Linked DNA regions of Homo sapiens: all the other regions are linked to region 3. Evidence: promoter capture Hi-C in 16 types of primary human blood cells and fetal thymus (Javierre and others, 2016). All regions are on one chromosome and are shown on one strand. The core of a region is centred on a gene start or on the middle of the fragment in contact, and the rest is flanking DNA. Distances in the headings are between cores, read along the strand shown. Region 1 overlaps LOC124901753 (a long non-coding RNA gene). Region 2 holds the start of CREB3L2-AS1 (CREB3L2 antisense RNA 1). Region 3 holds the start of SVOPL (SVOP like). Region 4 overlaps AKR1D1 (aldo-keto reductase family 1 member D1). Region 5 has its middle 24 kb from the start of CREB3L2. Region 6 overlaps AKR1D1 (aldo-keto reductase family 1 member D1). Region 7 has its middle 11 kb from the start of MIR4468.

Region 1 (3,112 bases), core at 606-3,105, 630 kb after region 3:
TATTTTAATTTTGGTAATGTTTATTTGTCATTTTCTTTGTATTGTGCTTTAAGTATCTAACCCCAGGTCACAAAAATTTAATTCTGTGTTTTTTTTCTGAAAGTTATATAGTTTAATATTTTCTGTTTAGACCTATGGCTCATCGTGAATAAATTTTTGTATAATTGAAGAGATTTAGTTGTTTTGTTTTGAATAAGGATGGCTTATTGTTTCAATTACATCTGTTGAAAAATCTGTGCTTTCTTCACTGAATTTCTTTTGCACCATTGTTAAAAATAAAAGGCAAGCGAGCAGCCATATACTCTAGTAAATCATAAGACCAGCCCTGATTTTATTGATAATTGTCCAAGTTTCTAAAAACTATAATATGATAAATATTTCAACATTAAAACCATATATTTAAAAAAATAAAATAAATAAATAAAAGGCCATATATTGGTGGGTCTATGACTTTCTACTTTGTTTCATTGATTTTTTTTTTGCTTTATTTCTGTGAACTCCACATAGAAATAGGCTTCACTGATCTATTTGTCTCTTCTTTCATTGATACCACACTGTCTTGATTTTTGTAGCTTTATCATAAACCTTAAAACCATATAGTATAATTTTCAGACTTTATTTTTCTTGCCCAAAAGTATTTTAGCTATTCTTTCTCTTTTACTTTCGATATATGTTTTAGAATCAGTTTGTGTGTTTAAAATTCCTGCAGGATTATTTTGTATATTTAAATTGTTTTCTGGGTGTCTTATTTTGGGCTGCCATAATAAAATATGATAGACCGGGTGGTTTAAACAACAGCCATTTATTTTGCACAGTTCTGGAAGCTGTGAAGTCCAAGATCAAGGTGCCAGCCAATTCAGTTTCTGTTAAGAGCCAGGAAGAGAGCTTCCTGGCTTGTTGATGGCTGTCTTGCTGTGTTCTCACAGTGTGTTGGGGACTGGGGAGGTGGGGAAGAGGAGAAACAGAGAGTAAGCAAGCTCTGTGGTCTCTTTTTAAAAGGACACCAAGCCCGTCATGAGGAACCCACCCTCATGACCTGATATAAACCTAGTTACCTCTCAAAGGCCCCATCTCAAGATACCATCACACTGGGAATTCAAGTTTCAGCCTGTGAAATCTAGGGGGACACTATTCAGTCCATAGCGCTGGAGTTACCCTGGGGATTACGATTAGCATCTTAACTTTGTAACAATCAAGTTTGAATTAATACTAACCCAGTTTTAATAGTATTCAAACATTTTGATCCTTTAAAAACTCCATCAGCCTACTCCTTTATGATATTATTGTTACATAGATTTTGTCTTCAGGTTTTGACAATTTGACAGTAATGTGTCTTTCTGTGGATCTCTGGCTGTGTCCTTCTTGGAGTTCACTGAGCTTCTTGGATGTGTAGTGTCATGATTTGCACCTAATTTGGAAAGTTTCTTGGCCATTATTTCTTCAAAAAATAGTGTTTTATTTTTTTCTCTCCTCTCTTTCTTGTACTGCTATTATGTATACGTTTGTATGGCTGATGGTGTCCTACAGGTCTCTTAGGCTTAGTCATCTTTCCACTCCAGTGAGTTTTAAATGTCAGATATATTTTTCATTTCTGAAATTTCCATTTAGTTATTTTAAGTATGCTTTATTTCTTTCCTTAGACTCTCTACTTTTGCACTGGCTTCATGAGTGTTCTTGATTGTTTCCTGGGAAACTTTTGTAATCGCTGCCTTAAAGTTTTCACCATATAAGTATGTACAACATCTATGACATCTTGGCTTTGCTGTCTTTTGGTTATTGAGAACTTTTTGAATGTTAGGTTATGAGATCCTGGGTCCTGGTTTTGTTTGTTTGTTTGTTGTTATTGTTTGTTTGCTTTTGAGACAGGGTCTTGCTCTGTTTTCCAGGATGGAGTGCAGTAGTGCAGTCACAGCTCACTGCAGCCTCAATCTCCTTGGGTCCTGTTTAAATGGCATAGAATGTTAATGTTCTCATTGTAGAAGGCAGGCTTTAGAGTTGTATTCAGTGGGGGACTCCATCTTATTTGGAACTAGAACCCTCACATGTTTCTTAATTTTTAATGTATTATATACATCCTTACTAAATTGATGGAATCTAAATATTACATTGCTTTTCTCATCAGAAATGTTTCAAGTTACTCTTTATATATTAATATTTTCAAAATAAATTGACCTAAAACAGCTCCTATTTTCATTCAACAAAAAAATTGCTTGTGAATTATACTTTCTTTGTGGCCATAAATCCATAAAAATTATATTGACAGAAATAATAAGATTAAGTTTGGTATTTACTATGTACTTTACATGGCTTCTTTAATTTTCACAACAATCTTATGTGGTGAATATACTGGATCATTTAGTGTCCCCCCAAAGTCAGGTCTATCTGAAACCTCAGAATGTGACCTTATATTTAGAAATAGGATCTTTGCAGATATAATTAGATAAGTTACTATTGGATTTCAGTAAGCCCAAATCCAATGACTGGTGTTCTTATAAGATGAGAAAACAGAGACATAGAGGCTTAGGGAAGAATGACATGTGATGACAGAGACAGAAATTGAAGTAATGCATCTACAAGCCGAAGAATGCCAATGATCGCTGGCAACCACTAGAAGAAAGGAAGAGGCAAAGAAGCATTCTTCCTTAGAAACTTCAGAGGGAGCATGGCCTTGCTGATGTCTTCATTTCAAACTTCTAGCATCGAGAAATGTGCTAGAATAATTTTTGTTTGTTTGTTTTAAGCCACCTAGTTTGTGGTAATTTGTTATGGCAGCCCTTAGAAAGGAATGCAGTGGGTAATATTATTATTCCTGTTTTATAGGAAGAGTCTTGAGGTCCAAAACAGTTTTTGTCAAAAATTGCTTAGTAACTGGAAGAACTGCCAGGCTGTCTGACTCCAGAGCCTATGCTTTTAGTCACTACACTCTACTCCCTCCAATAAAGTGATAACAGGGTAGATACATTGATCAATGACAACATATTTAAAGGGACTACAAAAATGACTAATCCAAACTAGTCATAATTAAATGAAAATAAATTGAAACCTTCGTATATAATATGCTCACAGTATTAGATACTCTTCTCTCTGTAGATCTGATGGTAGAAAAATGTTT
Region 2 (2,985 bases), core at 327-2,826, 750 kb after region 3:
GTGACTAATTACACTTGTGCTTAGGCAACGTTTGTAGTCTTCTTTCTATTCCTTTGTAGGTTGGGCAGTTGTTCCGACTTCTGTGGGACTGAGAGATATCCCAGGATGTGGAACTTTACAACCAGAAAAGTCTGAGGCAACTGGGGCAGCTGGTCTTCCTACTTTCTAGCCTCCATGCCTTCCTCTTCTCCTCTTACCTCCTCTCTCATGGCCAGACAATACCATGAGCATTCCAAACTCTTTAGGCTGCTGTTACAGATAAACTTTACATGTGGTGGACCTGGGGAGTTTGGCAACACAAAGTTATTCATTTTAAAAAATAGGAGTGCTCCTAGGGTAGTTTGGACGCAAGCATAAGCTGCCTTTATAGAGCTTAAATGTGTGCTGCCTGCAGTGCTCCTGATGATTTCTTTGTGGTTCTTTCCTTTTTGCTAAAAGTTTTCTGAAAATAGAAAGCCGTGGCCATTATAGTTAGAACAGGGAGCAAACAGGAACCTCTGAGAGGATCCCTAGCCCCCTGCCCCCTGCCTGGGTCCACCCCTACTTCTGGGTAGCTATCTGCTGTCACCACCTGCAAGAGCAAGAGTATTTGTAAGCTGTGGATTATGTCCCTAGGATTACTAGTCTTTCTTTTTCAGGAAAAATAATACACAATTCAAGCCAAATGTAAACAAGCACTAAGATCCTACACTTTTGTTCTCGGTGATCATTAAATGCTGTGGGTCATTTCACAATTTCAGTTGTCATTTTAGTTATCCCTCATGCGTAGACAGGACAGGTACAACCTGTATCTCAAGGTCAAAGGGCAGGACTCTACTTATGTTTGTGGAACTTCAGAATACCAGACAGAAACCCATGCAGAGAGGTAGCCTCTCAAGATTTTGATCTTGTCTCCTCCGTGAAGAATGACATGAAGAATTTCTCTTTCCCTGTGATTCATCAGGAGAGTGCTGTTTATTCTTCCAGGTTTACAGCTCACACACCCCTGCTGCTTTTCCCTCCTGGAGAGGTTACAGGACCTTGTGATCTTACTGGGCTGTGTGAAAAACCCATGATGATGCCTTTCCCTTCTGCAGATCTTTGTTTGACCGTCTGTTTTAAGTGCCCCTTTTTCTCTTGGTTATCTAGCTGCCAGCTGTTTACAAACTAGTTTGCATCAAGCGGTTGCCTAGAAACCATCATGAAAACAGGATTAGGCAAAGCATTTTTTCTATATTACAGCTGCTTTCTGATGAAGGCTTGGCATTAGAAAGAGCTCAGTGTCTACCCCTTCCCAGCCTTAAAACACAATGCAAGTGAAACAAGGACTTTCCAACAGAGATGAAATGATTTCTCTAGAGTCACATTCTGAGACCGTCATCACCCACCCAACTCTCCCCTCCTCTGCAAACCCGCATACCTTTCCCTTTCAGGAGAGTCGTGTGTTGGGGATGGTTGACGCTTTTTAAAGAACATTTAACATACACCAACAGCAGGTCTCAGATACTGTTATTTATCCATCTATTCCTCAGGCCTCAGCTAGACTGGAGTGGGTGCAGAGAAGTTAGAAGGCTCTGGCAGTAATTTGGTCATAAGGAAGGAATGTGTTATGTGGAGTAGCAGTTAATCAACTAAGCGGTAAGCAGGTTTTCAGTGAAACACCACCGGGAGCTAATCCCACTTAACATAAACTACAGTGACTTAGAGGGAACAAACTGTCTAACCCTGAGCTCTCTTGTTTCCCAGGAAATAAATCAGGATGAAGTCAAGAGACATCAAGGAGTTTACATTAAAAGGTCTTACTAAGTGATTGAAATATTCTTAAACTGGCTGGGCACAGCGGCTCATGCCTTTCATCCCAATACTTTGGGAGGCCGAGGCAGGCAGATCACTTGAGGTCAGGAGTTCGAGACCAGCCTGGCCAACATGGTGAAACCCTGTCTCTACGAAAAATACAAAAATTATCCAGGCGTGGTGGCAGGCGCCTGTAATCCAGCTACGTTAGAGGCTGAGGCAGGAGAATCGCTGGAACCCGGGAGGCGGAGGTTGTAGTGAGCCAAGATCACGCCACTGCACTCCAGCCTAGTTGACAAGAGTGAGAGAGAGAGACCCCGTCTAAAAAAAACAAAAACAAAAACAATTATTCTTAAACTCCTCCTGGAGTAGGATAGATAGGTAAATAAGTGATTATATCTGGATTTGGGGTCAAAGGAGAAAGAGGAATCAGGAAAAACTTAAGAGTTAGTAAGTCAGCAAATACTTACTGAGCACTTCCTTCTAGGTGTGGTAGAGTTGGGGTGGGGTAGGTAGGGTGGCTGTCAAACACTGAGCAAGACAGACAGTCCCTGTATATTCTAGTGCAAAGGCGGGAAAGCAGGGGCCAGATCATAAAAACTGGAACAGATAAATCAGTAAGCTAATTTCACAGACTGGCAAATGCAGTGAAGATGACAAAATGGGACCTGTGGCTACCGTAGGGGTCATGGACACTGTTTCTCTAAGGTGACATTTGAGTTGAAAGGCTGAGAGCCTGAGGGCTGGGCGGGGATATCCTCTCAGCCATGGGGAAGTTGGGAAGGAGGCTGAGTATGTGGAAGAGATGGTTAATAGAAATCAAACACAAGGAGAACCTTCAAAGTCAGATGATAAATCAGGTCCATACTAGGAAGATCTTTTCCAAGTTTCCCAGAAAAGTAAATCAAACCTCACCAGGCCTCTAGATGGTTTTAATTACCTTTTTGTAGGGCTGCTGAACAGGGTATTAGTCATATACTTGACAATAAGGACTTGTGGATTTTTCTCAGAGATATTAATGGATGGGAGTAAATTTGCATTTGAAATTTTATTTTTAAATTACGAAAATAACATATTACCAAAGTTAGAGAAATAAGAAAAGAAAAACTCTTATGTTCCCACTATCCTACCAGCCCTATTGTCTATTTTGTATATTTCTTGAAGACTAGGTCTCACTCTGTCACCCAGGTTATAGTGCAGTGGCGTGATCCT
Region 3 (3,065 bases), core at 239-2,738:
TCATTCTTTACTCCTTTTTTATCTTTTTTTTTTTTTTTTCAGACAGAGTCTCACTCTCTCTCCCAGGCTGGAGTGTGCAGTGGCGCGATCTTGGCTCACTGCAACCTCCGCCTCCCAGGTTCAAGCACTTCTCCTGCCTCATTCTCCCGAGTAGCTGGGATTACAGGCATGGACCACCACGCCTGACTAATTTTTGTATTTTTAGTAGAGACGGAGTTTCACCATGTTTGCCAGGCTGGTCTTGAACTCCTGACCTCAAGTGATTCACCCGCCTTGGCCTCCCAAAGTGCTTGGATTACAGGTGTGAGCCACCACTCCCGGCCCATCCTTTACTTCTTCTTCTTCTTCTTTTTTTTTTTTTTTTTTGAGACAGATTCTCACTGTGTTGCCCAGGCTGGAGTGCAATGGTGCAATCTCGGCTCACTGCAACCTCTGCCTCCCAGGTTCAAGTGATTTTCCTGCCTCAGCCTCCCGAGTAGCTGGGATTACAGGCACATGCCACCACGCCTGGCTAATTTTGTATTTTTAGTAGAGATGGGGTTTCGCCATGTTGGCCAGGCTGGTCTTGAGCTCCTGACCTCAAGTGATCTGCCCACCTCGGCCTTCCAAAGTGCTGGAATTACAGGCATGAGCCACTGTGCCTGGCCCTTAAATCATGCTATGGGCCCTCAGCTGGGACTCTTCAACTGCAGGTTCTTGGTCAATTTCCTTCTTGGTTCTGTGGCATACAAACAGGGATTTGCCTCTCCATTTGAAAGCCATGTTCTTGCCTTCTGGAATATCAAATAACTTGATTGCAATTTTCGACACGGCCGACTCATCAGCAGAAGCACTGATGCTGGAAACAAACTGGGAGATGACATTCTTGGCAGCATATGTGACACCCACAGCAGTTGTTGCAGTTACCAAATAGGAGAACCCTTTCCTAGCCTCGCCATCCTCTTTTGAAGACTTTGTCCCATCAAAAATCTCAATGCAACAGTAATCAGGGAAGTCAGGCACATTGATGTCTGTATGGGAATAACGAACAGAAGCAGGGACATTGAGGCCCACAGAGTTGACCCAAGACAGGCTCATGGCCTGGCCACTCAGTGACTCCTGGCATAGCAAAGGCTGCTCTTGTACAGCACAGGCAGCTTCAGGGTGGCAGGCACCATGGCCTATACCAGGGGCTACAGCATGCCTGCCACCCTGCAGGATATGGCTGACAGGATGGGCATGAACCTGCTCCTTAATTCTAAGCAATGGCTGTGAGCAAATGTTTGCAAGGGCAAAGCTTCCCTCTGCCCCTTGCCTAGGTCTTCTCTTTCAGAAATTCTTCCAGCTGTCCTGAGAACAACATAGTAATTTCCTCCAAAGTTCGGCAGCCTCTTTCAGTCTTAACAAGAAATGTAATTTCCCCTTTAAAAGGAGATCAAGTGCAGGCTGCTGAGAAGAGGGTGTGCCCTAGGTGTCATTCACTTGCCCAGAATGCGAAGTTGGCCCTTAAAGAATCCTGATCTGAGACCCGACCTGAAAGGAGAGGATAAGACCAGGGAGCCAGGCGTCTTGGGAACACAAGTCTGGCCACCCCTGAGAAGCCATCTGTGCTCCAATTTCCGTCTAAGACTTGGCCACGGTGAGGGGAGCAAAAGAGCCTGAAATTGGAAGACTGTCCAAGGAATATACAGAGGTGAGAAATTTGTGGGCAACATTGATCTGGACTTATTTTTTCCTGCTGCTGTAGAGGGTGGGGTGGGGCATTGACTGTTAGTTTGTGGCCGAAGGCAAATGGAGCATGAAAATTTCCTTGGATATTGCAAAACAAATTACATCACACATCACACACAAAACTCAGTTTAAAAAAGATCTACTGTGGCCCAATTATTTCTGGTTAAAAAACAATCAGTATAACAAAATACAATAGAATAAAATGTCAATCAGTCCTTTAGAATTTGTTTTAATGAAGCTTGAACTCCATCTGAGTTCAGGGAAAATCCCCAATCTATCAGTTTCTCACCAGGTTTTGTGAAGGTAGGTCATGGATTACTTTCCCATTGTAGCTTTTTAGGAACTTATAGTGAGGGACGCGAAGCATTCTTTTCCATGTTATTCCCTATTTTCCTGAGTTGGTCTAACTGATCATCCATCTGCCATCCATCCATCCATCCATCCATCCATCCATCCATCCTCTTACTGGGTTAGAAAGGATTTAGAATGACACAGGAAACCAGCCGGGTGCGGTGGCTCACGCCTGTAATCCCAGCACTTTGGGAGGCTGAGGTGGGTGGATCACAAGGTCAGGAGTTCAAGACCAGCCTGACCAAGATGGTGAAACCCCGTCTCTACTAAAAATACAAAAAAATTAGCCATGCATGGTGGTGGGTGCCTGTAATCCCAGGTACTCAGGAGGCTGAGGCAGAAGAATCGCTTGAACCCGGGAGGCAGAGGTTGCAGTGAGCCAAGATCACACCACGGCACTCCAGCCTGGGCAACAGAGTAAGACTCTGTCTCAAAAAAAAAAAAAAAAAAAAAGACATACGGAACCAAAGAACAGAGTATGTCAATTCAGCCTTTCCAGCATTCCATTGCTGAGTTAAGATTGCAAGCTCTATCTCTCAATAATGTTCCTCATCTCCATCTCTCAAACATGTTGTTCTCTTCTTTCTTCATGTAGCTTTTGGCTGAAACTCTAGAGACTACCAAGAAAATACATTTCATATATATGCTAACTAACTTTGAGTTTGTGTTTGAGTGTCCTTTTAATGACTTGGAGAGTAAGCCCCTTTCCAAGGTACAGATGTGAACGCTACAATCCTGATAATCTCCTGCCAACAGCCCTGTGCCCTGCAACTTGCTCCACCAAAGGAATCCTGTTGTTGAAAACTCTGTATCCTAATAGGGTGGGAATGAGGACTTTCTCTGTTGCAGGTAAACCTGTACGTTTGTTTCTTCCCCCTCTTGGCAAATTCCCCTGACACCGGGGACCCACCCGGCCCTGATTATCTTCAAGGGCTATGCATTGGGAAGACCAGTGTTACAAGTGACGGGCACTGAACGCTGTTCCGGTGGCGGGGCGAGGGCTG
Region 4 (3,267 bases), core at 462-2,961, 590 kb after region 3:
GGAAGCAGCGAGAACAACTTCTCTTTCCAGATGTTTGAAACAGAAGAGAGAAGTGGATAATACTTGGAGAGGAAAGTGAGTCTAGGTTGGATTTTATTTTTTAAGATAGGAGGTTACTACATATGTGAATGTTGGTGGGAGTTACACAGTAGAGAGGAACAATTGCTAGTGTAGGAAAGAGAGGGGGATGTTTGAAATTGAGGCTATGGAGGATTTATTAGGAAGTTGTTATTGCAATTTCCAAGGGCTAGGCATGGGAATTAGTGGCTGAAATATATAGGACAAGATTCTTATGGGAGAGGAAGTCAAAGAGCTGTCGGATAAGGGTGGAGAACGACTGGTGTGGATGTTGAATTCACTAAGAATTATGAGAGGAAGAGTGTTGGAGAAAGTGAAAGTGAGCCCAGAGATAACATCTTCAAAGAATGGAGGCCAGTGGATGATGGCAACAAAGCTGGACCACACCTGGTATAATTTCTTTTTTTTAAAATTTTAACTTTTAAAATATCCTGGCTCCGTATTAGCTTTCTTCATGTTTACCTTTAATTTTATCTAGTTTTTAAACTCATGGTTTTTTGTTTATTTGTTTTGAGACAAAGTTTCACTCTTGTCATCCAGGCTGGAGTGCTATGGTATGATCTCAGCTCACTGCAAACTCCGCATCCCTAGTTCAAGCGATTCTCCTGCCTCAGCCTCCTGAGCAGCTGGGATTACAGGCGCCCATGACCATGCCCGGCTAATTTTTGTATTTTTAGTAGAGATGGGGTTTTGCCATGTTGGCCAAGATGGTCTCAAACTCCAGACCTCAGGTGATCCACCTGCCTCAGCCTCCCAAGGTGCTGGGATTAGAGGAGTGAGCCACCGCACCCAGCCTAAACTGATGATTTAACTTAACTTTTTTTAATTTTAAAGCAATGGGATCTCGCTTTGTTGCCCAGGCTGCTCTCAAACTCCTGGTCTCAAGCAATCTTCCTGCCTCGGCCTCCCAAAGTGCTGGGATTACAGGTGTGAACCACTGTGCCCAGTCTTAACTTTTTACTACATAGTTTTTATTTTCTTTTGCTTTTCTTTTTTCATCAAAATATTTATTTTTCCCTTTATTCTTTATGCTTTATTGATCTTTGCCATTCTTTTAAAATATTTCTAACAGTTTATTTTACCTTCATTCTAAGAGAGCATAATTTATTATTTTGTTGCTCCTTGCTTTCATACCCAGCAAAATTCATGGTTATTGGGTGAGTCTATTCCCTAAAGAGTGAGAATTGGCTGTGATTTTCATTCTCATTTTCCTTCTAAATCTGTATCCGTTTTTTTCTTGGAATATGTGACCTCTGAGTTCCATTCTTTTATTATCAAGGCTATGGAAACATATGGAATATAACATAATTAGTTACAATGAAAATTTCAAGGAGAGTGGCATTTTCTCTGGTACAAAATTGCGATTTGCTAGATGCTATAAAGTCCAAATGCTTTCCATCGCAAAGGTCACTTGTAACACTCCTATAATTTTTGAACAGCAAAATTTTCAGTCCTCAAAAAGTCCATCAAAATGTGTTTTAATCTTCAATGAGCCTACACATTAGTAATGCAGTTGATCTCTTTCTAAGATTGTGGAAAAGAGTGTCAACCACTTTTTAGGATGAGGCATTTTGGCAAATGTTATTGTCAGGAGTTGATGTAACTATTCAGCATCTTTTCGCCTTTTTTCTTTTTACGAACTTTCCTTCCCCCTTCTAGTGGAGCTGTCTGTTAACTTCTTCAGCACAGGAATAGGGATATAGCCCTGGGGTCAGGGTATCCTACTCAGTGGCCACAGTGGGTAATATGAGGGTGACCTTCAGGAGCTAATCAGGGATTGATAGAGACCCTGATAGAAGACTTTGTTTCTGATCATCTTCACTCTTCACTGAGTATGAGTAATTGATTATCCTGGAGCTGTTAGGAATTGTCTGTGCCACCATGTGGGTGGAGAGAAAGGAGGGAGAGAGAGAGAGGACTAAATCTCTTTATAAATCATTTGAGTACCTGTGTCTAGCCATTTCTGATCTACTCATGGACTTTCCAGTTATGCAAGCCAATAAATTATCTTTTATTTTTTGCTAAAGTTTGAGTTGCATTCTATCATGTAGCAAAAAAGCTCTGAAGATGTAATTGTCTAATATTGTGGCTATCTTCCTATGTCAGTACTTGTATTTTTTAAATGGCTATATGATATTTCAGTGTACAAATATGTCATAGCTTGTTTTATAAAATCCTGTTGAAGATTGTTTTGAGTTTTTAAAAAATTACAAAGAATTCTATAATAAACATCTGTCTGTGTGTGTGCACCCATGTATATATGTGCAAATACATCTATAGGGTAAGACTGCTGAGTCAATGGATAAGTGTATTTGAATTTATTTAATTTGACAGATAACATTGTATGTTTTTATCATATACAACATGATGTTTTGACATACATATAAATTGTGGAGTGGTTAAATCTAGCTAATTAACAAATGCATTACCTCATATAGTTATCATTTTTGTGGTAAGAGCACATAAGATGCACTCTCTTTATGTTTTTCAAGAATACACTATATCATCATCAACTATAGACACCTTTTTGTACAATAGATCTCTTGACATTTGTTCCTTCTAACTGTAATCACAACTTTTTTGACCAACATCTCCTCATAGCACCCTCCCTTCAATAATCTCAGCCTCCGGTAACCACTATTCTACTCCTTACTTTTATGTGATTAACTTTTTTAGGTTCCACATATAAATAAATCATGTAACATGTACATTTGAATTTTGATGGACATGAAATAATTTAACCTACTCTTCCATATCTCATACAAATTAATGTTTCTAACAATAGTGTGTCAAAGCGCCTGTTTCCCCAAATATTACCAAGTATTTTGATTATTTTCTGATATGAAGGGACAACTAGTATCTTACTTTTTATTTATCTTTAATTATGAGTAGGGCTAAACAGGCAATTTACTTTTGAAATGTAAATTAGCTAATGGGTAATTAATTAATTTTGTATGGCACTTTTCTATGGTTGTGTTTACCTAGCAGTTTAGTCTTTAGTAGTAGCGGAATAAATGAATTACCCCTTTGTCTAGTTCTTTCTTCACTTGGAAGTTACAACGTAAGTCATAGATTACTTATAGAGGGAAGTAAAGGCAATTAGCATTCATGAAGTCTAAATGGTCCTCTTCAATAATTTTCAAATTTGTCCTCAACTTTTACCAGAGCCATTAAGAAGGTGGAAAGTTG
Region 5 (2,954 bases), core at 262-2,761, 680 kb after region 3:
GAGAAAGAAAACAAATAAACTATTTCTTAGGAAAATGGGAGTACTTGGTTACAATTCCCCACTACCAAGTTCCCTTCCATCTCTGTGAAATTGGGGTACTGTATTTATTCTGGCTACTTCCTGCTGAAAGACAGTGTAGTTATTGGGTATTGGTATGGAATTGATCTGTTTGGATTTGGAAATATTCATGAATACCTGGACTTTACAGATGATATTCGTTGGACCATTATGGTGCAAGTTCCGGAAAGTCTCTGGGGAAAGCCCGTCTCGCATTCCCATATGGAGGGTGCAGCAGCAGTAAACTCCACAACAGAGGGATATGCCTATCCTTGAAATCAGGGCGAATGTTACAGCCAGCTTTTGCTACCAGGATGGTACTGACCTGAGTCAGGACAGTAATCACTGGTCTAGTGACAATGTGGAGTCAGACAAAGCTTTGATTTGTTGGTATGTATCTTGCAGGGCTATCTGAGACATTTCCCAAATTTACTGGGATGTATACACAGCAGTTAGTCTTAATTATCATACAGGTTGTCCACTGCCCATCATAACTGGATATAATGACAGGTTGGCTAAATATGTATTTAACAGGTTACAGGAAGAGCTATGAATACTCATGAACATTGTCATAAGCACTGTCTAGTTCTTGAGAATGGATCAGTTTAGTTAAATATCTGTGTCCCATCCAGGAGGTGGCATTGCAGGTGGGCTAGGCCTCTACATGTGATAAAGGCAAACAGATTATTAATAAGAGTCATTTCTATGGAGACAGAAGAAAAACAAAGGTTAACACTGAGCACAATTTATTCAGATGTTAGACTCAAAGCATCTTTAGTTACAGAAGAGGAAGGCTGTGGTAGTCTGACATGTCTTTCTCATCTATATTACAAGGAATAATGTAGTAGTAATTTCATTGATTCCAAGTCAGAAAAATTTTCAAGCAATAATTTGGGACTTGAAGCCTGGATGGAATTCAGGATTCAGTCCAAATTGCAGAAAATAAAAACTCACAAACAAACAGTGAACACAACTAGACTCTAACAACAGGTGTGCTATGTTTTTTTTCTAAAACATATTTTTTTCTCTCTAGTTATTTTTACTAAAGACAAGTCATTGTAGAACCAATTTATTTGCATAATAAATTTCAGTCTTATCATCTGTGGCCTGAATATTTGCATAAAGTATAGCAAGAATTATTACTTGCCACATAGACTCTTTCTAAAATTGACTTTGCTGGTAGTGTTTGATTCCTTTATTCCATAAGGAATCTCAGATTAGATTTTTAAAGACTTGAGCCCAGTCATGGATTTATCTGTACCTGCAAATACTTATATGAGTTGGGGGAATTCCTCTCCTTAAGGCCCCAAGGTAATTTGGGGCTCCTGGACCTGTCAGGTGACATTCTTTACTTACCACAGGTGAGGAACTCTATACAAGGACTGTGTAGACAAGGTATGAGGCCAGTTTTCCCAAGGGGCTTTTATTGGCTCTATAAGTCAACTGTGATTACTTAAAGCAGTCTGTTTATACCTGAAAGTATGCCACTCTAGTCAAAGCCTTGGTAAAATCACCAGGGTCTCCAATGGTGTCTTGTTACAAAAGAAAAAAGATTCTTATTGAACTTGTGCAAACAACTATACTGCCATAAATTAAGTACACTTACAAATAGTTTTCAAATTCTGAGGAAACCAGGTAGACAGAAAGAAATACGCTCTAAATTTTACTCTCAAGAATGTAATTTACCCAGTTGCTAAAAGCTGCAAACAGTACAAAAGACAAAAGGTTTTCTGAACTCTGTGAAACAAAAGAATTAGCAATGTTTCAAACAAAAAGTTGTAAAAAGACTATTTTGGTCTTCCATTAGTTCAGTCTATGTAATTAACTCCTGTCCTGCTTGACATTTATGAACACATTAACTCTCTATGGCAGTCTTGGAAGTTTTTCCCTCTATTCTAATGTCACAATTTTCAAAGTTATCAGAAACTTAAATTCCAGGGCAACTCTCAGAGTCCTATAGCTGATTATAAAACTGCCTATGAAAAGAATCAGAGTGAAATAACAATTGGCAACTGCATACAGAGGGGTTTGAGGCTCCCTTTCCTTTGGGGATTGCCACCTCTCTCCCCTAGCCTAACAAATAACTCTGCTCACCGCCACTCAGGCCTGCAAAATGAACACCAGGCCACCGGGGCCTGAAGAGTACTGGAGCAAGGGGGTTGCTCGTGGCAGGGTCAGGGGAGGGGCTGCCCAGGCCGAGTGAGGGGCTAAAGTCTCAGAACAGCTGTGGTTAAAGTCTGATCACCTTATGGCACAAAACAATTTAACATAACAATTATAATTGTTACTGATAATATATAGACATATCAGAATTATAGGACATATCAGAATTATGGGAATCCTATACAATTTTGGAACACATGCTAATAATATATTTATATGAATATGACCCAAAGAAAGTTTAAACACCATTTTATATTTGGCAATATTTTTTGTATGGTTTTAGTATGCCAAATAAGCCAAATATGTCTCTTTTGGACTTTAGGGTACCTAATATCTAAAAGAGTTAGCCAGATCAAAGAAAAAGCTTAATTTAGAAGTTGACTTTGGAAAGTTTGTCAAATATCAAAGGTTTAAACACTTACTATTACAAAATAGAATCCCAGGTCACTATATGTCATTTATTTAGCCAATGATATCCCTCCTTCTCAGGATGAAGATATATTCCTATCTTATGAAAACATTCAAGTAACACCCTGGACATTTTCATGTTACTCTCTTTTTTAGTACCTGGTGATTGGCTTTGGTTAGATTTTCTATTTTAACCAATGCTTCTTCCTGTTCTTTCATTTTTAGCTTCTCTTTCAGTTTCTCTGCTTTGAACAGTTAGGTACAGTCATTAAATAGCTTTTGGTTCATCTGCATGAAGAGCTTCAGTGTGTTGGATATCAAGCCAT
Region 6 (3,083 bases), core at 33-2,532, 610 kb after region 3:
TTAAAAAATCAAGAAACTTGGAAACCAAGCCTGAGTCTGCTAACATAATCTTCTCGGGTATTTGTCAGACTAGGTCAGTACTCTCTGATCTGTGGTAACAAAACACCACAATATTCTGTGGTGCCAAGTAATACGCTAGCTTCATGCACATAGCTATTGGCTCATGGTGCAGAGCTTCATGCACATAGCTATTGGCTCATGGTGCAGAGCTTCATGCACATAGCTATTGGCTCATGGTGCAGAGCTTCATGCACATAGCTATTGGCTCATGGTTGCCAGGGTGCAGAGACCTGACCTTTGGGCATCTGAACTCACCTTAAAGGCCATGGGTACTTCAATGATGTAAAGATCCACATAATCTAGCTGGAGGACCCTGAGTGTCCTCTCCAGGGTTGGGCGGACCATCTCTGGGACATGATTTGTAGCCCATAGCTGAAAGAATCAAAGAGGGAGAATTAACTAATGTCTACACGCTTTTTACGATAAGGCAGCCCCTTTTTCTTTGTAAAACACTCGTACACATTTTTTTTTTTTGAGATGGGGGGTCTCACTATGTTGCCCAGGCTGGTCTTTAACTCCTGGGCTCAAGCGATCTGCCCACTTCAGCCTCCCAAAGTGCTGGGATTATAAGCATCAGCCACCGTGCCTAGCCGCTTGTACACATTTTATTCACACATTTCATTTCACAAAAATATGTTTATGATGCAGTGTCATCTGAGTATAGGATGAGCTGATAAAACTCTTGACACTCAGAGCCTAGCTTGAGAGCTTGTTTGGAGGTTCTAGTAGGGGAGTGCAGCTACTCACATACACTTGACCTAAAAACCCTCCTCCTTCATCAGGGAAAGCCGTCCTCTTCCACTGAGAGTGCAGCTTCAAGAGGTACAATTGCCTAGACAGCCAGATCAGCTGAATTAGCCCTGGTGACTAATGGGGTGACATATGTTACAGCCAGATCACCCTCACATCTCCAGACATAATTTTATGCAAATCTACCACAAGAGACTTACAGATCCTCCTTGACCACAGAGTACCTAATTTGATGGCAGTCTTCCCCATTTCCGGGTGAATTTCCTGATGCTTAGTGCTTGCATTTTTCCTCATTGTATAACTAGGGTTACACAATGTTCTAGATGTCCTGACCTAGCGTGATACTTTATTGTCATGCCACTCTGATAAAATGAGCAAGGAATATGGTTATGCGTGTGGCTTCACTGGGTCCTTCACATTGTGACAGGTGGTGTGAAAGCCTGGTGAAATTTTAAATTAGTGCATAGATTTAGATTTGCTTTCACTGATCTTTTGTTCTTATTTGGTCCTACTTAGACCCCAGAGCAATTAAATTACTCTTTCGCTAAGGCATTACATAATGAAGGATCAAGGTTTGGTTGATCCTACTGGAGCATGTGTACCCTTAAGTGTCTGAGACATACGGTGCCAAGGTTGCTTATACCCACAGGACAAATTAGTACATCTTTTGGAATATCAGTTTTGCTCACAGATTTTTTTGGGGGGATATAAGTTTAGAATCATACTTTTCTTTTTTCTTTTTTTTTTTTTTTTGAGACGGGGTCTTGCTGTGTTGCTGAGGCTGGAGCGCAGTGGCTTGATCTTGGCTTAGTGCAACCTCTGCCTCCCGGGTTCAAGCGATTCTGCTGCCTCAGCCTCCCAAGTAGCTGGGATTACAGGCACCTGCTACCACGCCTGGCTAATTTTTGTATTTTTAGTAGAGATGGGGTTTCACCATGTTGGCCAGTCTGGTCTCGAACTTCTGACCTCAAGTGATCCTTCCTCCTCTGCCTTCCAAAGTGCTGGGATTACAGGCTTGAGCCACTGCACCCGGCCTGAATCATACTTTTTTTGGTCACAAGAAAGGGTAAGCAAAATTGGTAATATCTGATTTTTTCCTCTGTTGGACAATGATTTTTTTCTTGCCTTAAAAACACAGAGAAAATTTAACATGAAGAGAGTAGTGGAAAAATGTGTTACGTGTGTTTTGATTGCTACTCTGGGTCTCTTTGGTGTTCCTATTGCAATCCCATCTAAGTGGAAATTCTGTTTGATATTTATTTTACTTTCTTTTTCATTCCTGGGCATAGGCTGATGATATTTTAATTTACTTTTATTCAACAAACATACATAGTATTAGCTTTGTGCCAGGTTCGGTGTGAGTGCTTTGTAAATGTGAACTCATAACAACTTTATGAAATAGTTGACATTATTATCCCCATTTTACAGAGAAAAAAAATTGAGGTCCAGAAATGCTAGGCAACTCAGCCAATAGTGACAGATCTGGGCCTCTGACCTGGGCAACCTTGCACCAGTCTAGGCTCTTAATCACCCCCACATTGCCTCTCAGGTGCTGCTGAGCTGCAGTGAAGACAGTCCTGATGAGGCAATAGCAATGGCACATTACATGAACTCAGCTGCACACACTGTTTCTGTTTACGTAAGTAAACACCAATATTTCGCCCAAGTATGCTTTATTACATACAGCCCATATTGACATTGTATACGTATAAATATTGCTTTCTATTCACAACTGTACTTTTTGGACAATTTAAAGGATTAAAGTTAAAGGACAATTTAAAGCATGTTTTGACCACCTTTTCCTTGTATGCTAACTTTAGCCTCTATCATAGTAAGAAATGACTCCTATAATATGAGTCATTAAGCAAAAGGCTTGCATAATGTGCCTGCCCAGGAAGCCTACATAGCTGGCTTTTGGATTGGTGACCTTATGAGCTTGTTTTTTTTTTTTTTTAATTTACGTTTGTTTGCTTTTATTAAACAAAATCTGAATACCATGTCTGAGTTAATTACATTTGCTCAAATGCTTTTTTTTTTTTGAGAGAGGGTCTCGCTGTGTCACTCAGGTTGGAGTGCAGTGATATGAACATGACTCATTGCAGCTTTGACCTCCCTGGCTCAAGCCATCCTCCTGCCTCAGCCTCCCAAGTATCTGGGACTACAGGTGCAAGTTACCATGCCTGGCTAATTTTTGTATTTTTTTTTGTAGAGACAAGGTTTTGCCATGTTACCCAGGTTGGTCTTGAACTCCTGAGCTCAAGCAAAACACCTGC
Region 7 (3,016 bases), core at 471-2,970, 570 kb after region 3:
ATTCTACCAACATTTAAGGAAGCATGAGTACTAGTACTTCTCAAACTCCTCAAAAAATTAAAGAGGAAGAAACACTTTCCAACTGGATTTGTGAGGCCAATATTATCCTGACATGAAAGCCAGACAAGAACACTCCAAAAAAAAAAAAAAAAAAAATTACAGCCCAATATTCCTGAGGAACGTAGACGCAAAAATCTTCAACAATAGACTTGCAAACCAAATTCAATTGCATATTAAAAGGATCACTCACCATGATCAACTTGGATTTATGCCTGGGATGCAAAGATGGCTCAACATATGCAAATCAGTAAATGTTATACATTGTATTAACAAAGTGAAGGACAAAAATCATGTCAATAGATGCATAAAAAGCATTTGACAAAATTCAGCATCCTTTAATGATTAAAACTCTGAACAAATTAGTTATAAAAGGAATGTTCCTTAGCACAATAAAGTCCATATATTACCAGCCCACAGCTAACATCATACGCAATGGTGAAAAGATGAATATCTTTTATCTAAGATTGGGAACAAGACAAGGATGTCCACTATTAAGAAATGGGAAACACCAAGTGTTTTTCCTAATCCCACATACCCCTCAGCACAACACTTCTAATGCAAAATGTGTAGGGGCTCTTCACCAGACTTCCAAGCCATTCTCCAGCAGACACCAACTGGGTGTCCTACAACTTAACTCAATTCTGATACCATCTACCTAGAGATAGAGTCAGATCCCACAGGTTAAGGACTCAGCTCCTTGAGACTGCCCCCATTTCAGATGTCAATGGTAAGCCTCAGGTTGTGACCTGTGCTTCTGACCGGTCAGCTCTAAATTGGGGTTCTCAAGACCCCCTCCTTGGGTTCTATTAATTTGCTAGAGTGGCTCACAAAACTCAGGGAAATACTTTACTTACATCTACCTATTTATTACAAAGGATATTTTAAAGAATACAAATGAACAGCCAGATGAAGAGATACATAGGGTGGAGTCTGGAAGGGTCCGGAGCATAGGAGCTTTCATCCCTATGGAGTTGGGGTACACTACCCTTCCAGTATGTAAATGTGTTCACCAACCAGAAAGCTCTCCAAAACCTGTCTCTTTAGGTTTTTGTTGTTGTTGTTATTGTTGTTGTTGTTTTTAGACAGAGTTCCTTCTCTGTTGCCCAGGCTGGAGTGCTGCAGTGTGATCTCAGCTCACTGCAACCTCTGCCTCTTGGGTACAAGCAATTCTGCTGCCTCAGCCTCCCAAGTAGCTGGGACTACAGGCACGCACCACAATGCCCAGCTAATTTTTGTATTTTTAGTAGAGATGGGGTTTCACCATGTTGGCCAGGCTGGTCTTAAACTCCTGACCTTAGGTGATCTGCCTGCCTCAGCCTCCCAAAGTGCTGGGATTACAGGCATGAACCACTGCACCCAGCCATCTTTAGGTTTTTAATGGAGACTTCATTAGGTAGGTATGATTGGCCTTTGATGACCAAATCAGCCTTCAACCCCTCTCCCCTCCCTAGAGGTGGGGGGTGTGGCTGAAAGTTTCAACCCTCCAATCACATGGTTGGCACCCCTGGCAACTATCCTGTGGTTATCTAGGAGTACTCAGTGATCAGCCATCTCATTAGCATACAAAAATACATATCGCTTTGCAGATTTCAAGGATTTTAGCAGCTTTGTGCCTGGAACCAGGGACAGAGACCAAGTATATATATATTTTATTATATCACAATATTACACTCACTCTCACCACTTTTTTTTTCAACATAGTACTGAAGTCCTAGCCAAAGGAATTGGGCAACATAAAGAAATAAAAGTCATCCAAATCAGAAAAGAAGTCAAAATGTCTCTGTTTGCTGATTACAAGATTTTATGTATAGAACAACCTAAAGATTCTACCCAAAAGTGTTAGAATTAATAAATGAATTCAGTTAAGTTTTAGGATACAGCATCTACATATAAAAATCACTTGTGTTTCTATACTTTGGCAATAAACTATCTGAACAAGAAATTTTTTAAAAAGTCACATTTATAATAGCATCAACGGGAATAAAATAATTAGAAATAAATTTAACCAAAAAGGTGAAATATCTGTATACTGAAAACTATGAAACATAATGAATTAATGAATAAAATTGAAGAAGACACAAATAAATAGGTATTTCATGTTTATGGATCAGAAGAATCAATATTGGAAACTTGTCTATATTACTGAAAGTGATCTATAGATTTAATGCAATTCCTATGAAAATGCCAATGTCATTTTTCATGGAAATAGAAAAAAAATCATAACATTTATATGGCACCTCAAGAGACCCTGAATAGTTAAAGCAATCTTGATCAAGAAGAACAAAGCTGGAGGCTTTGTGTTCTGATTTCAAATTTCATTACAAAGTGATAGTAACTAAAGCAATATGATACAAGCATAAAAACAAACACACATAAACCAATGGGATGTAACAGGAAACCAATAAATAAACCAATACATATATGATCAAGTAATCTTCAATAAAGATGCCAAGAATATACAATGCAGAGAGAATAGTCTCTTCAGTGAATGATGTTGGGAAAATTGGATATCCACATTCAAAAAGAAACAAAAAAATGAAATTGGATTCTTATCTTACACCATGCACAAAAATCAACTCAAACTTGATTAAAGATTTAAATGCAAGATCTGAAACCATAAAATTCCTAAAAGAAAATATAGGGGAAAAGCTCTATGACAGAGGTCTTGTCAATGACACCAAAAGCACAAGCAACAAAAGCAAAAATAAGCAGGCAGGATTATATCAAAGTAAAAAGTTTCTGCAAAGCAAAGGAAACAATCAGCAAAACGAAAAGTCAGCCCACAGAATGAGAGAGAATATGCACAAACCATAGATCCTATAAGGAGTTTATATCCAAAATATATAAGGAACTCTTACAACTCAGTAGTAGAAAAACAACCTGATTTTAAAATGAGCAAAGAACCTGAACAGATATTTTTCCAAGGAAGACATACAAATACTCAACAGAAAAAGGC

The links. The method cuts DNA at HindIII sites, captures the fragments that hold promoters and counts their contacts. A CHiCAGO score of 5 or more calls a contact.
Region 1: a contact is called between a fragment that was not itself captured here and the fragment with the promoter of SVOPL in region 3, in 1 of 17 cell types (M2 macrophages). The highest score is 5.6, in M2 macrophages.
Region 2: a contact is called between the fragment with the promoter of CREB3L2-AS1 here and the fragment with the promoter of SVOPL in region 3, in 12 of 17 cell types (fetal thymus, naive CD4 T cells, M0 macrophages and 9 more). The highest score is 9.2, in fetal thymus.
Region 4: a contact is called between a fragment that was not itself captured here and the fragment with the promoter of SVOPL in region 3, in 7 of 17 cell types (endothelial precursors, erythroblasts, megakaryocytes and 4 more). The highest score is 8.9, in endothelial precursors.
Region 5: a fragment that was not itself captured here is called in contact with the fragment with the promoter of SVOPL in region 3 in 1 of 17 cell types (M0 macrophages); the score reaches 5.2 in M0 macrophages.
Region 6: a contact is called between a fragment that was not itself captured here and the fragment with the promoter of SVOPL in region 3, in 7 of 17 cell types (erythroblasts, endothelial precursors, M2 macrophages and 4 more). The highest score is 8.0, in erythroblasts.
Region 7: a fragment that was not itself captured here is called in contact with the fragment with the promoter of SVOPL in region 3 in 1 of 17 cell types (endothelial precursors); the score reaches 5.4 in endothelial precursors.

The regions. Positions count from the first base shown.
Region 1 is chr7:138,069,519-138,072,630 of GRCh38, reverse strand. LOC124901753 (a long non-coding RNA gene) reads right to left here. Exons shown (of 2, transcript XR_007060553.1): 2 at 784-1,940. Among named protein-coding and RNA genes, the nearest start is that of AKR1D1, 5.4 kb to the left of the region's middle. The HindIII fragment of the contact is 7,969 bases long and covers 1-3,112 here.
Region 2 is chr7:137,951,939-137,954,923 of GRCh38, reverse strand. It overlaps CREB3L2-AS1 (CREB3L2 antisense RNA 1), which reads right to left and starts at 1,576. Exons shown (of 4, transcript NR_161346.1): 1 at 1,400-1,576. All of the region lies in intron 1 of CREB3L2 (cAMP responsive element binding protein 3 like 2), which reads left to right. The HindIII fragment of the contact is 9,042 bases long and covers 1-2,985 here.
Region 3 is chr7:138,699,785-138,702,849 of GRCh38, reverse strand. SVOPL (SVOP like) reads left to right here and starts at 1,488. Exons shown (of 16, transcript NM_001139456.2): 1 at 1,488-1,672. It also overlaps the pseudogene UQCRFS1P2. The HindIII fragment of the contact is 672 bases long and covers 1,279-1,950 here.
Region 4 is chr7:138,108,077-138,111,343 of GRCh38, reverse strand. All of the region lies in intron 7 of AKR1D1 (aldo-keto reductase family 1 member D1), which reads right to left. Among named protein-coding and RNA genes, the nearest start is that of MIR4468, 14 kb to the left of the region's middle. The HindIII fragment of the contact is 4,177 bases long and covers 1-3,267 here.
Region 5 is chr7:138,024,183-138,027,136 of GRCh38, reverse strand. It overlaps the pseudogene LOC100128052. Among named protein-coding and RNA genes, the nearest start is that of CREB3L2, 24 kb to the right of the region's middle. The HindIII fragment of the contact is 2,150 bases long and covers 437-2,586 here.
Region 6 is chr7:138,089,117-138,092,199 of GRCh38, reverse strand. It overlaps AKR1D1 (aldo-keto reductase family 1 member D1), which reads right to left. Exons shown (of 9, transcript NM_005989.4): 3 at 316-432. It also overlaps the pseudogene RN7SKP223. Among named protein-coding and RNA genes, the nearest start is that of AKR1D1, 14 kb to the right of the region's middle. The HindIII fragment of the contact is 6,515 bases long and covers 1-3,083 here.
Region 7 is chr7:138,132,865-138,135,880 of GRCh38, reverse strand. No RefSeq gene overlaps it. Among named protein-coding and RNA genes, the nearest start is that of MIR4468, 11 kb to the right of the region's middle. The HindIII fragment of the contact is 9,735 bases long and covers 1-3,016 here.